Regions from separate parts of the Homo sapiens genome. Here all the other regions are linked to region 1. The links are contacts of gene promoters, found by promoter capture Hi-C in blood cells and fetal thymus (Javierre and others, 2016). All regions are on one chromosome and are shown on one strand. Each heading gives the region's core, a stretch centred on a gene start or on the middle of the fragment in contact. The rest is flanking DNA. Distances are from core to core; before and after follow the strand shown.

Region 1 (3,758 bases), core at 657-3,156:
CACCTGAGGTCAGGAGTTCGAGACTAGCCTGGCCAACATGTTGAAATCCAGTCTCTACTAATAATACAAAAAAATTAGCTGGGTGTGGTGGCGCACGCCTGTAATCTCAACTACTCGGGAGGCTGAGGGAGGAGAATCGATTGAACCCAGCAGGTGGAGGTTGCAGTGAGCCAAGATCACTCCATTGTACTCCAGCCTGGGTGGCAAGAGTGAAACTCCGTCTCAAAAAAAAAAAAAAAATTACCAAAAAGTTTGCATAAATGCACAATAAAAGAACTGAAAAGCCTATCCCTGGGCAGGTACAGAGTAAAGAAAGATAACAGAACTTCAGCATTTACTATACTGTTTCTTAGTTTCTGCTAAGTATTACTCGTGTAAAGTACTAAAGACACCAGAACCAGTGCTTCCCAACCAAGTGAGAAAACTGCTGAAAATGATCCCAATTTTGTAAAAGCAGTAAATAAAATTCTCTAGATGTACACTTACGTTTTTATCGGCATGGGGTGAAATGGGGAAGAATACAGCCCTAGCTGCTGTTTGGGGAAATGACAAGGCATTTCATGGAGACGACTTTTTCATCTTTACATTGATTCACCAGTACAAGCAAGCATGATTACCTTTATACTTTTTCTAAAACGAAGTTAATTTTTTTAATGAGAAACGATTACCTGGAATAGTCTCCAATTTTAGCCTATACTAACTACAGAGAGGGAAAACCATCTCTACTCACTTTGTCACCTATCCGGCAGAGGTACTCGGCCTTTGCCATCATTGCATCGCGAATTTCGCTCTCTCCTAGATTCTTCTCTGCATCTTCCAGCTCCTCATCCAAACGCTTCAACTCATCTTCATTTGCCTTCTTCATTTTATTGAGTAGGTCCACGTCTATCTGCCAGTCGAGGGATTTGCACAAGGCTTCATAGTAAGGAGCCATGTCTAACATGCAAAAAGAGGGATGTGTGAGTGGGGACACTTGTGCCCTCAAGTCAAAGTCTGCCCACGTATTTCACCCCCCGCCCCGCCACAAGTCATCCACCAGTCTCTTCCCCACTAACAGGAAGGCATGCGATGGCGCTTAATAATCGGCTTGGCAAAACATAAACGTATGCTGGTGGGAGGTTTGCGTGACGGCCAATCCTGGCAATGCCAACCTCTACTAGGGCTGGAGGGAGGGCAATCCTCGGTTTGCTCTTGCCGGATTCTGTTCCAAAAGTCTTCAAACAGGGAAAGACTTTTTATACACACATACTCACATACATATGTTCAAACATACACATTCACTACAGAAGGGCCAGAAAGAACCGAACCCAAATTTCCCTTCCACAGGCAAGCTGAACTCTCCCACAGGAATACCCCGCGCCCGGGAGCAGTCCCCACTGACAGAAAGTCACGGGGCCTTTACTCTGTGCCTAGCACAGGGGTAAATATTAATGCCTCACGATTCTCCCCCAAGCTGCCCTTACAGGGGAAGGCGGCACAGAGAGATGCAGACCCCGCTGAGGCAAGTCGAGGTCCCCCAGGGTATCCCCAAACCAAAGCAAAACCCTAAGGGCCGGAGAAGCCAGGCCTGGTCTCTGAGACCCCGTCAGAGGGGTCTGGAGCTCCATCAAAAAAAGTCCCCGCAGGCTCCGGAACGCGGGGACGGCCCAGGCCTAGGCCGCTGACTCGGCGCTCGTGCGGGCCTCACTGTTATCGCGGACGGCCGCCATCAGCTCGTCGCGCACGGCAGCGTCTCCGCGGTGCTCGGGCAGGCTGAGCAGGAAGCGCAGCTGCGCGATACGCAAGTCGGGGTTCTTGGGCAGACCCTCCTCCTCCAGGTTCTCCAGCGGCATCGCGGCGAAGGGGACAGCGGCTGACAGGACACAACTTGGTTACGACCGGCTGCGGCAGCGGAAGCGGGAGGAGTCGGCGAATACGCCCGGCCGCCTGCGGCCCGGCTTCCGGTCCCGTCTCCGCCGGCAGCGTCCTCTGCTGGACACCTCCGGGAACGCCTCACCCGGCCTGGGCGCCTGCGCCCCTGTGTGGTCACGGGGGCTTTTCCACCCTCAAGGCCCCCTGCGGAGTCCCAGAGTGGGTGCAGCCCAACTCAAAAGCCCAATTTCTTGAATCTCTTTCTCACTCCCTTTTTAGCTATTTTACTTTCCGTTTGTAACTGATGGGAGCTTAAAATTTTTTGAAAACTGAAAATGTAATAACAGCATTAATAAAAACAATCACCATAGTTTGTCGAGTCGTTACTCTCATTCATCTTATTAAAATCATCTTCATGCTGCGAGGTAGTACTATTAGCCTATTTAGTAGGTAAGACAAATGAGGCACAAAGAGGTTAGGGAAACAGACCAACCAAGGTCATGTAACAGCCATGTCGCAAGGCCTAAATGAAAACCCCTATCTAGAACTCTAAAATCCACATTCTTTCTGCGGTTTTAAGAAGAAAAAAAAACTGCACCCAGGATTCTACGTCATAGTACAACAGCATCATCGTTTTGTTTACACATAAATTAAATCATTACATGCCTGCATTTTCAGCTTCCTTTTGTTCACATTGCTACAGATCTTCAGAGGTGGTAATCTTTACATTAAATTCCTTTTTTTTTTGAAACGGAGTCTTGCCCTGTCACCCAGGCTGGAGTGCAGTGGCACAATCTTGGCTCACTGCAACCTCTGCCTCCCAGCTTCAATCGATTCTCCTGCCTCAGCCTCCCAAGTAGCTGGGATTACAGGCCTGCACCACCATGCCGGGCTAATTTTTGTATTTTTAGTAGAGACGGGGTTTCACCATGTTGGCCAGGCTGGTCTTGACCTTCTGACCTCAAGTGATTCCCCCGCCTCAGTCGTCCAAAGTGCTGGGATTACAGGTGTGGGCCACCATGCCTGGCCTAAATTCCATCTAATGGATTTACCATAATTTACTTTCACTCTTCCCTCTGTTAGAGGTGTCTTTAGGTTGACCAGAGTTTTTACTTACCTAATATAAAAACTTGGATGAAGACTTTGGATGTCTAGATCACTTCATGTTTTGCATCTTTTTCCTTAGCATAAAATCCCATGAAGGAATAACGGACAAAGGGAAGAAGGATTTTGTGACTTGGGGATATTTAATGTTAAATGGTTTTCCAAAAGAGCTGAACCAGTTTACACAGCTGCTGAAACAGGTGAGACTGCCACATCTCACAGGCAGTAGGCATCATCACATAATTTAAATCTATTATTTGTTTCTATAAAAATGAAACAAGCATTTTGAAGACAACTCAAATGATAGAGAAAATATGAAGAGTAAAAAAAAAATACTATTAAATAGCTCTCCACCACTGCTAAACTTTTGGTAAAAAACTTTCTAAAATTCTTTCATTTAGTCATTCAACAAACATGATTGCATGGTTACAAAGTACCAGGCACTGTCTTAGGCCTCAAGGACTCAGCAGTGAAGAGCACAAAGCCCTGTCTTTGGAACTTACATTCCAGAGAAGCATAGCTTCTTTAAAACTCATCTGGGTATATTAACATGATCATTCTATACTCGCACATTTTAAACTGTGTTTTATTCATTCTACCATGTATTGTGGATATCTTGGATGACAATGGATTGACCATATAGGATTCCATTATATTTATTTCTGTTTGTTTGTTATTTTTGAGACGGATCTCACTCTGTTTGAGACGGATCTCAGGCTGGAGTACAGTGGGGTGATCTTGGCTCACTGCAACCTCCATCTCCCGGGTTCAAGCGATTCTCCTGCCTTGGCCTCCTGAGTAGC
Region 2 (3,446 bases), core at 314-2,813, 38 kb before region 1:
AGCTAAGAAAATGTAATGGTCTTCCTTTTTGCTCTGGGGTCTTCCTTCTTTTAAAATGCCAGTATGCTAATAAGGTATATTTGCTGAAAAGTGTGGGTTATTGATGTGGGGTGGCTTCAGGTCATCAGTGAACACCTCTACATAAATGAGCTTGTATGTTGATGTGCATTTCTCTGGAGGGTGTCCCCAGCTACCCCCCAGATAGGTTCAAGAAGCATTCAGAGTCACTGCTTTGAAGTATGTAATTTTAAAACCTTAGAGGGAGGAAGTAAAAATGATAAAAGTTAGCATTTTCTTCTAAAAATTAATAAAATTGTTAGTGTTTTACTTTAAATTTTATTAAAGTGTATTTGAATAAAGGACTTCAGGCCCTGTCCCATGCCCCAGCCAGTGGAGGCATGTTACAGTCTTCTGGAGTGGGAAATTTTTAAGTGGTTCTTACTTTAAGCTTCTAATTTAATTTTAGTATATAGATTTTGTCTTACAACAGTGGTTCAGAACCTTTTTGGGGAAAAGGGTTGGTCAAGAGTACCTTTAAATATCTCATTTTTAAAAAAAAAAAACCACGGTCCATCTTCCGAGAATAAAATAGTGCATACACATACACATTCTGAATTTTTCTATCTTGGATTAATGGACACCCCCACCCCAAGCCCATCCTTGGATTTCTAGGTTAAAAACTCTCATAAAACAAACTGCTTTTTTTTTGTATAGGGTACTAATTGGACACACAGTGGTGTAGTGGTGGTGGTGTATGAAGATAGCCACCTGAGTTCTGTAGAATTATGTCAGTTTCAGCTGTCCCTAAGAGAATGTGTGAAAGCATGCCTCAGCCCTGTCCACATCATGATCACAACTTGCCATTCTCCTTCTGCGCTCTTCCTGCCTACCTGACTCTCAGTAACATGGATTTCTCAGTAATACAGTACCTGTGGGCAATGAGGTTTGCTTTTTTCAAACCCAAGATGTTCTTTTTCAGTCATTTACAAAGCGTGGCAGGGAACCACACCTTTAAGTGTGCAAGACAGTATTGTTGACTGTGAAAGAATATTATACAGCAGATGTCTAGAACTTGTTCATCTTGCTATAACTGAAACTTTATGCTCATTGATTAGTAACTCCTTATTTCGCTCTCCCTTCAGCCGCTGGCAGCCACCACTCTAGTTGTTGATTCTGTGAGTTTGATTATAGATCTCATATAAGTGGAATCATGCGGTGTTTAGTCATTATGTGACTGGGTTATTTATCTTAGTATAATGTCTTCAAGCTTACCTCATACTTGTTGTAGCATATTGCAGAATTTCCTTCTTTTTAAGGGCTGAATAGTATTCCAGTGTATGTATATACTATGTTGTCTTCATCCAGTCACCTGTTGACAGACATTTATATTGTTTCTACATCTTGTCTATTATAAATAATACTTCAGTGAACATAGGAGTTCTAATAGCTCTTTGAGATTCTGATTTCAGTTATTTTGGATAACTACCCAGAAGTGAGGTTGCCAAAAGTTTTTTTTCAACTCAAAATCTTCAAGGAGCTTGACTGGCATTCTTCCTGTGCCTTTATTGCTAGGTGGAGTGACTTTGAATGGGTCTGCATTTTTCTCACATCTTCCTTTTCAAATGATATATGCTCCCCTTGTCGTCCTTCTTTAAGGGTGTCATTACTCTCCGTGGCATTGGGCTAAGCCTGTCATTGCATTAATAAGTCTTGAGACCCAGCTTGTCATGAGATCAGCATAGAACTGGCAGAAAATGCAGCATCCACCAGGCCTGCCCTTTTACAGGATGACTTGACTTTTTTTCATTGTTTTGTCAGTTCTTTTCCTTTTCCTTGCCTTCACGTTGGTCTGAATCTATTAAGCTTGGTAGGGCTAAACATGCCTGCATGTCCCTACCCTGAGTGTTTCCCAAGTTGCTGCCAGGTCTCTTCTGTCTTAGACTTAGAACGTTATCTGTTCTCTTCACCGTCAGGGGATTTGCTGCTGTTCATTCCCATTACTCATTCTCTGTTGTCTGTCTCCCATCCTCACTGCCCCTCCTCACTTCTTCATCTGTCTAATATCCCGTCGAAAGTCCTCTGTGCCTTCCACGCGGAGAGATTTGTGACTCCTGTAGCCTTTGTCCATTCACTCATTGTAGAACTTTTTATTACGTACATCTGTGAGCACAGGCCTCACTCTTTCTAGGTCGCAGGGAATAAAGGGTTTAGCACAATAACCACGTGTTCCCTATGCTTGTGGTGCTTACAGTCTAATGAAAGAGATGGAGAGTATTAATCACCAAAATAACTGTAAAATTACCACTGATGAGTTATAAAAAGATGAGAGGACTACATTATGAAAGCCTGCAAAAATGAAGTTTTTCCAGGGAAGGCTTTCTTGCCATAGGAACATTGGGCTGAAATCAATGTGATGATTTATCTGGGCTTGAGAGGGATGGGAGAGGTAGGAGAGGTGGAGGAAACAATATGTGTGAAGGCTCTGTGACAGGGGCAGAGCAAATTCCTTAGAACCTTAAAGCCAGCCAGGTGGCTGAACAGAAAGAGGGAAGAAGAGGTACGCGGGACCAAAGGAGCAGGGAGCAGTAAGCAAGGGTCTTAGAGTGTGCAGGGTTCCGGAGCCTAGTTATGCAGTCAGTCTTTATCCTGTGAGCCTTGGGCAACCCCTATCGGATTTCTGTTTGGAATGTTCTTCACAGCTCAGTGGAAACCCTACTTAGGCTTCAAACTGAGCTGGGAAAATGTATCTGCCTGCTTTCTTCATTTGGCTGTACTGTGCTAGGCACCGGGAACATTCAAGCTGAGGAGAGGTTTATACATCTGCTTGGAGAGACAGGCAGGTGGACCAGTAATATTATATGTTCATTCGTTCTTTCAACACACGTTGGAGGGCCATTATTTTTATAAACTTTTTGTTTGAAGCATTTGAGCGTCAGGTACTCTTCTAGATGCTGGTACAACACAAACAAAACAAAGTTCCTGGTCTTTAGGTTACTTTCTTAGGGATATTTTCCATATTAAAGAAAATCAAGTAAAAATGTAAAAAGCTAAACACATTTGTCTGTGCCAGGTTAGATTATTTAGGTAGACATAGTTTGCAGTGTGTCTCGTAAGGAGGTGGGTTGTGTTATTCAACCGAAAATGGTAGTTAGAAGCATAATTCCCTTTTTAAGTCCCTAAAGTTGTACCAACTATGCCAATACATTTGTATTATGTGTAGGGGCATGCACACACACATTTACAATATTTTGTAATATAAAAGAAGGAAACGTGGGTGAATTCATTTATGTTTATGGATATGTGATTAGGGGCCACTGTAGCTCATGTAAACTCATCCACTCCTCAGGATTAGCATCTCCTTGCATTTTTACAGACTGAGATCTCAGCAGTATGGAATGGTCAGGTTTAACTTGAGTGATTGGACTCAACTGCCAATAAGATTTGCC
Region 3 (3,531 bases), core at 644-3,143, 61 kb before region 1:
ATGGGAAGTCGCTGGAGGGTTTTGGCCAGGAAGTGTTATGATCACGTGGTTGCTGTATGGAACACGGGGCAAATGTGGAACCAGGGAGACCAGTTAGTGAGCTGTTTTATACTAGTTAAGGTGAGAGCTGGATCAGGAGAGAAAGCTTAGATTAGGATTGTAGCAGCAGGGGCAGAGAAGTGTGAACAGAATTAAAATCTGCATCGGAAATATAAAGCCAGCAGGGCTTGCTGATGGACTGGGAAAGGAAGGGAGGAGGAATGACTCATGGGGTTTTTGGCTCAAGCAGCTGGATGAATTTACTTGAGCTTATGGATCAGGAGGTTGTTCTTTCAGTTTGTATATGGGCATTTATTTTTAATGAGGTGCACTGACCTGAATAAAAAGTGTTGATGTATTATATTAAGTCTTTAGGCATTTTCTAAAGATTATAGAAGAAAATAATTATTGCAGTGATGCCAAGTTGGGGGTGGGGGGTCATTTTTTCTTTTCAGTTTTTTAATGTTTCTGTAATCTAGTCATACAAGCCAGGAAACAAAAGATACTGTGTGCACTTTCCTGGGACTTCTCATGTATTCATTGGGTAATTGTGAAAATTTATTGACTAACAAAAACCACTGCCTTTCAATTTGTTTTTAATTATTAAAATAAAATACATTGTAAAAGAAATTAAACAACCAGAGGATAAGTATGCAATCAGACTGAAGAAAGCTCCTTCATCTTACTTTTCAGGGGTACAGTTTGACATGTACTCTTGGAGGGTTCCTAGAACCTGGACAAAGTAATATTTACCAATGTATTTTTTCCCCTCACATAAAAAAAAGTAGATTCAGTGTGAATTTACATTTTTAACTTAATAATCTATCTAAAATATTTTTTCATGTTAATACATATTGTTCTGCTATAATCTTTTTAAGGACTGCCTGTTATTCCACTTTATTAATGTATTTTCACTTAACCTGACTCCTGTTGATGGACACTTAGATCTTCAGTGTTGCATTACTGTATACAGTGCTCTAAGGACCGTCCTTCTTTGGGAATGTCTGTCAGTATTTTAGCATATTGATTCTCCGCATGGAACCTGGTCACAGTGCCCTCCAGGTTTGTACTACTGTGATTTGATGAACTACTTCAGCAGTTCTGATTTGGGTTGCCACAATAATAAGGCAGTGAAAATGTGAGTTTCTGGCAATATCTATCTTTATATATATATAAATTGTTTATAATGTGTATATGGATCAAAACATTACACTGTACTGTAAATATATAGAACTTTTATTTGTCATTTATACCTTAATAAAGTAGAGGAAAAAACAGTTGGAAATTTTTTTTAAAAAGGCTTAATAAAAATTAAGTAAGAAATTATTATTTAATATATATATGAATTGTTGATATTCACCAGTGTCACTCTTGACTTGCCTGCTACATGTAGAAATCATTAGCTATTATAGGATTGCCATGCTTCAGCTTTAATGGAGATATTTCGGGATATAAATCCATATTTTATTTATATTTTCTAAAAAGTACTTTTCCTGACAGTCATTTCACAAGACTAATTTGTACGATGACTAAGATAAACACACCTGCGATTTCAACCCCACTAAGCTGTGATCTTACATATGACCAGAAGAGGGAGTTTTTATCACTTCTTAATGCTGTGGTACCTACTACCTGACTGGAATAATTCCTCTGATGTATGTACTAGTCCAAGTCCATAAAACAGACTGGTTTGGGAGGGGCCCAATAGCTAAATTTAGCTATTTCCCTCATCCCACATTTTGTATGTAGAAATCCCACTCTTGAGGTTTACTTCAAAGTAATTTTATACCTTTTCATCTTGTGCATTTGAATGTTAAAAAAGAAGAACAGATAATTATTTCCATTTAAAATAAAATACAAATAGCCCCTGATCACACAATATAGAGTTCTTGGTTTGTATTCTCTTCAGGTCACAAATAAACTTTGGAATGAAATTTGTTTCGTTGCCTCTTATGCTTGATATATTTATTAAAAAGGTCGTTAGAACTTCTGTTTTGTTTTTTTGAGACAGAGTCCCACTGTCTCGCTCAGGATGGAGTACAGTGGTGCAATCTCAGCTCACTGCAGCCTCCATCTCCCAGGTTCAAGTGATTCTCGTGCCTCAGCCTCCCGAGTAACTGGGACTACAGGCATGCACCACCACACCCAGCTAATTTGTGCATTTTTAGTAGAGACAGAATTTCGCCATGTTGGCCAGGCTGGTCTTGAACTCCTGACCTCAAGTCATCTGCCTGCCTCAGCCTCCCAAAGTGCTGGGATTATAGGCGTGAACCACCATGCCTGGCCTACAACTTCTAATACTGAAGATTTGTAGTGAGCTTTAGAGAGTTAAGATGTTATTTTGCCAAAGTGGCTAATAGGCCTTTTTCTGGGTGATTCAACTGTGGTCTGTTGTGCTACTTGAGTCTCAGTCTGCTTAGCCAAACAAATTAAGAGAGTGACAATAATCAAGATACACTTGTTTGATGTAATACCAGAATTTTGTATTTCTTTTTTTTTTTTTTTTTTCTTCTTCAAGACAGATTCTCACTCTCTTGCCCAGGCTAGAGTGCAGTGGCGTGATCTTGGCTCACTGTAACCCCCACCTCCCGGGCTCAAGCAATCCTTCCACCTCAGCCCTTCCAGTACCTGGGACTACAGGCACACGCCACCACACCTAGCTAATTTTTGTATTTTTTGTAGAGGCAGGGTTTCACCATGTTGCCCAGGCTGGTCTCAAACTCCTGGGCTGAAGCAATCCACCTGCCTCTGCCTCCTGAAGTGCTGGGATTACAGGTGTGAACCACCACACTCGGCCAGAATTTTGTATTTAATTTTTCTTAGCTACCTTCACAGTGCATTTTTGTAACACAAATTTTTTAGACCTGTTTCTTTATAGATTTTTTGATTGGCATATGAATATATGAAATATATACACCTATAACGTATTTTTATATAAATACACAAATGTAATCATCTCAACTATTTTCAGTGCAGCCTTTTTCTTATTTCATTGGCTCTTTCAACTTACCTGCCTTCTCTAACTGTAGCAGTCCATGCTACGCTATAAATCATACATGCTGCATTCTTAGTATGTAACTTAATATGCATCCTTGTATATTTTTCTCATGCTTCTAACTCTATCCAGGCACATAGAATCACGTATTTTATTAGTAGGGGCTTTTGGTGATAGTTTTACAAAAAAGTGGATCCTATTATGCACACTTCTGCTCCTTTTCTACTCAACAATACCTCATGTAAATCCATTCACAGCCCTGGATAACACTAATCCCCTCTTTTTAATGGTTGCATACTGCTCTAAAGTGTGGCTGTGCTGTAGCTTCCTCTGCCAGGCCCTCTATGGACATTCATTTTGTTTCTTGCTTTTTGTCTGTGTGAACCAAACAGCAGTACCCACTCTGGTACATACATACTTAATTACTGGTGGTTTAGTTTCTGTGGGATAGAGTCTCAGGAAGGGATTCCTGGGTCACAAAAGACTAGTTATTTGCA

What was found. The method cuts DNA at HindIII sites, captures the fragments that hold promoters and counts their contacts. A CHiCAGO score of 5 or more calls a contact.
Region 2: a fragment that was not itself captured here is called in contact with the fragment with the promoter of PSMD6 in region 1 in 1 of 17 cell types (total CD8 T cells); the score reaches 5.1 in total CD8 T cells.
Region 3: a fragment that was not itself captured here is called in contact with the fragment with the promoter of PSMD6 in region 1 in 1 of 17 cell types (naive CD4 T cells); the score reaches 5.2 in naive CD4 T cells.

Annotation. Positions count from the first base shown.
Region 1 is chr3:64,021,588-64,025,345 of GRCh38, forward strand. PSMD6 (proteasome 26S subunit, non-ATPase 6) reads right to left here and starts at 1,907. Exons shown (of 8, transcript NM_014814.3): 1 at 1,688-1,907; 2 at 731-936. The coding sequence starts at 1,832. LOC105377121 (a long non-coding RNA gene) reads left to right here and starts at 2,488. Exons shown (of 3, transcript XR_940906.3): 1 at 2,488-2,564; 2 at 3,038-3,155. RefSeq lists enhancers at 1,209-1,831, 1,516-1,865, 1,832-2,453 and a silencer at 2,016-2,115. The HindIII fragment of the contact is 6,204 bases long and covers 1-3,758 here.
Region 2 is chr3:63,983,660-63,987,105 of GRCh38, forward strand. The region is part of intron 8 of ATXN7 (ataxin 7); the gene reads left to right. Among named protein-coding and RNA genes, the nearest start is that of PSMD6-AS2, 19 kb to the right of the region's middle. The HindIII fragment of the contact is 596 bases long and covers 1,266-1,861 here.
Region 3 is chr3:63,960,380-63,963,910 of GRCh38, forward strand. The region is part of intron 5 of ATXN7 (ataxin 7); the gene reads left to right. Among named protein-coding and RNA genes, the nearest start is that of PSMD6-AS2, 42 kb to the right of the region's middle. RefSeq lists an enhancer at 34-533. The HindIII fragment of the contact is 3,500 bases long and covers 144-3,531 here.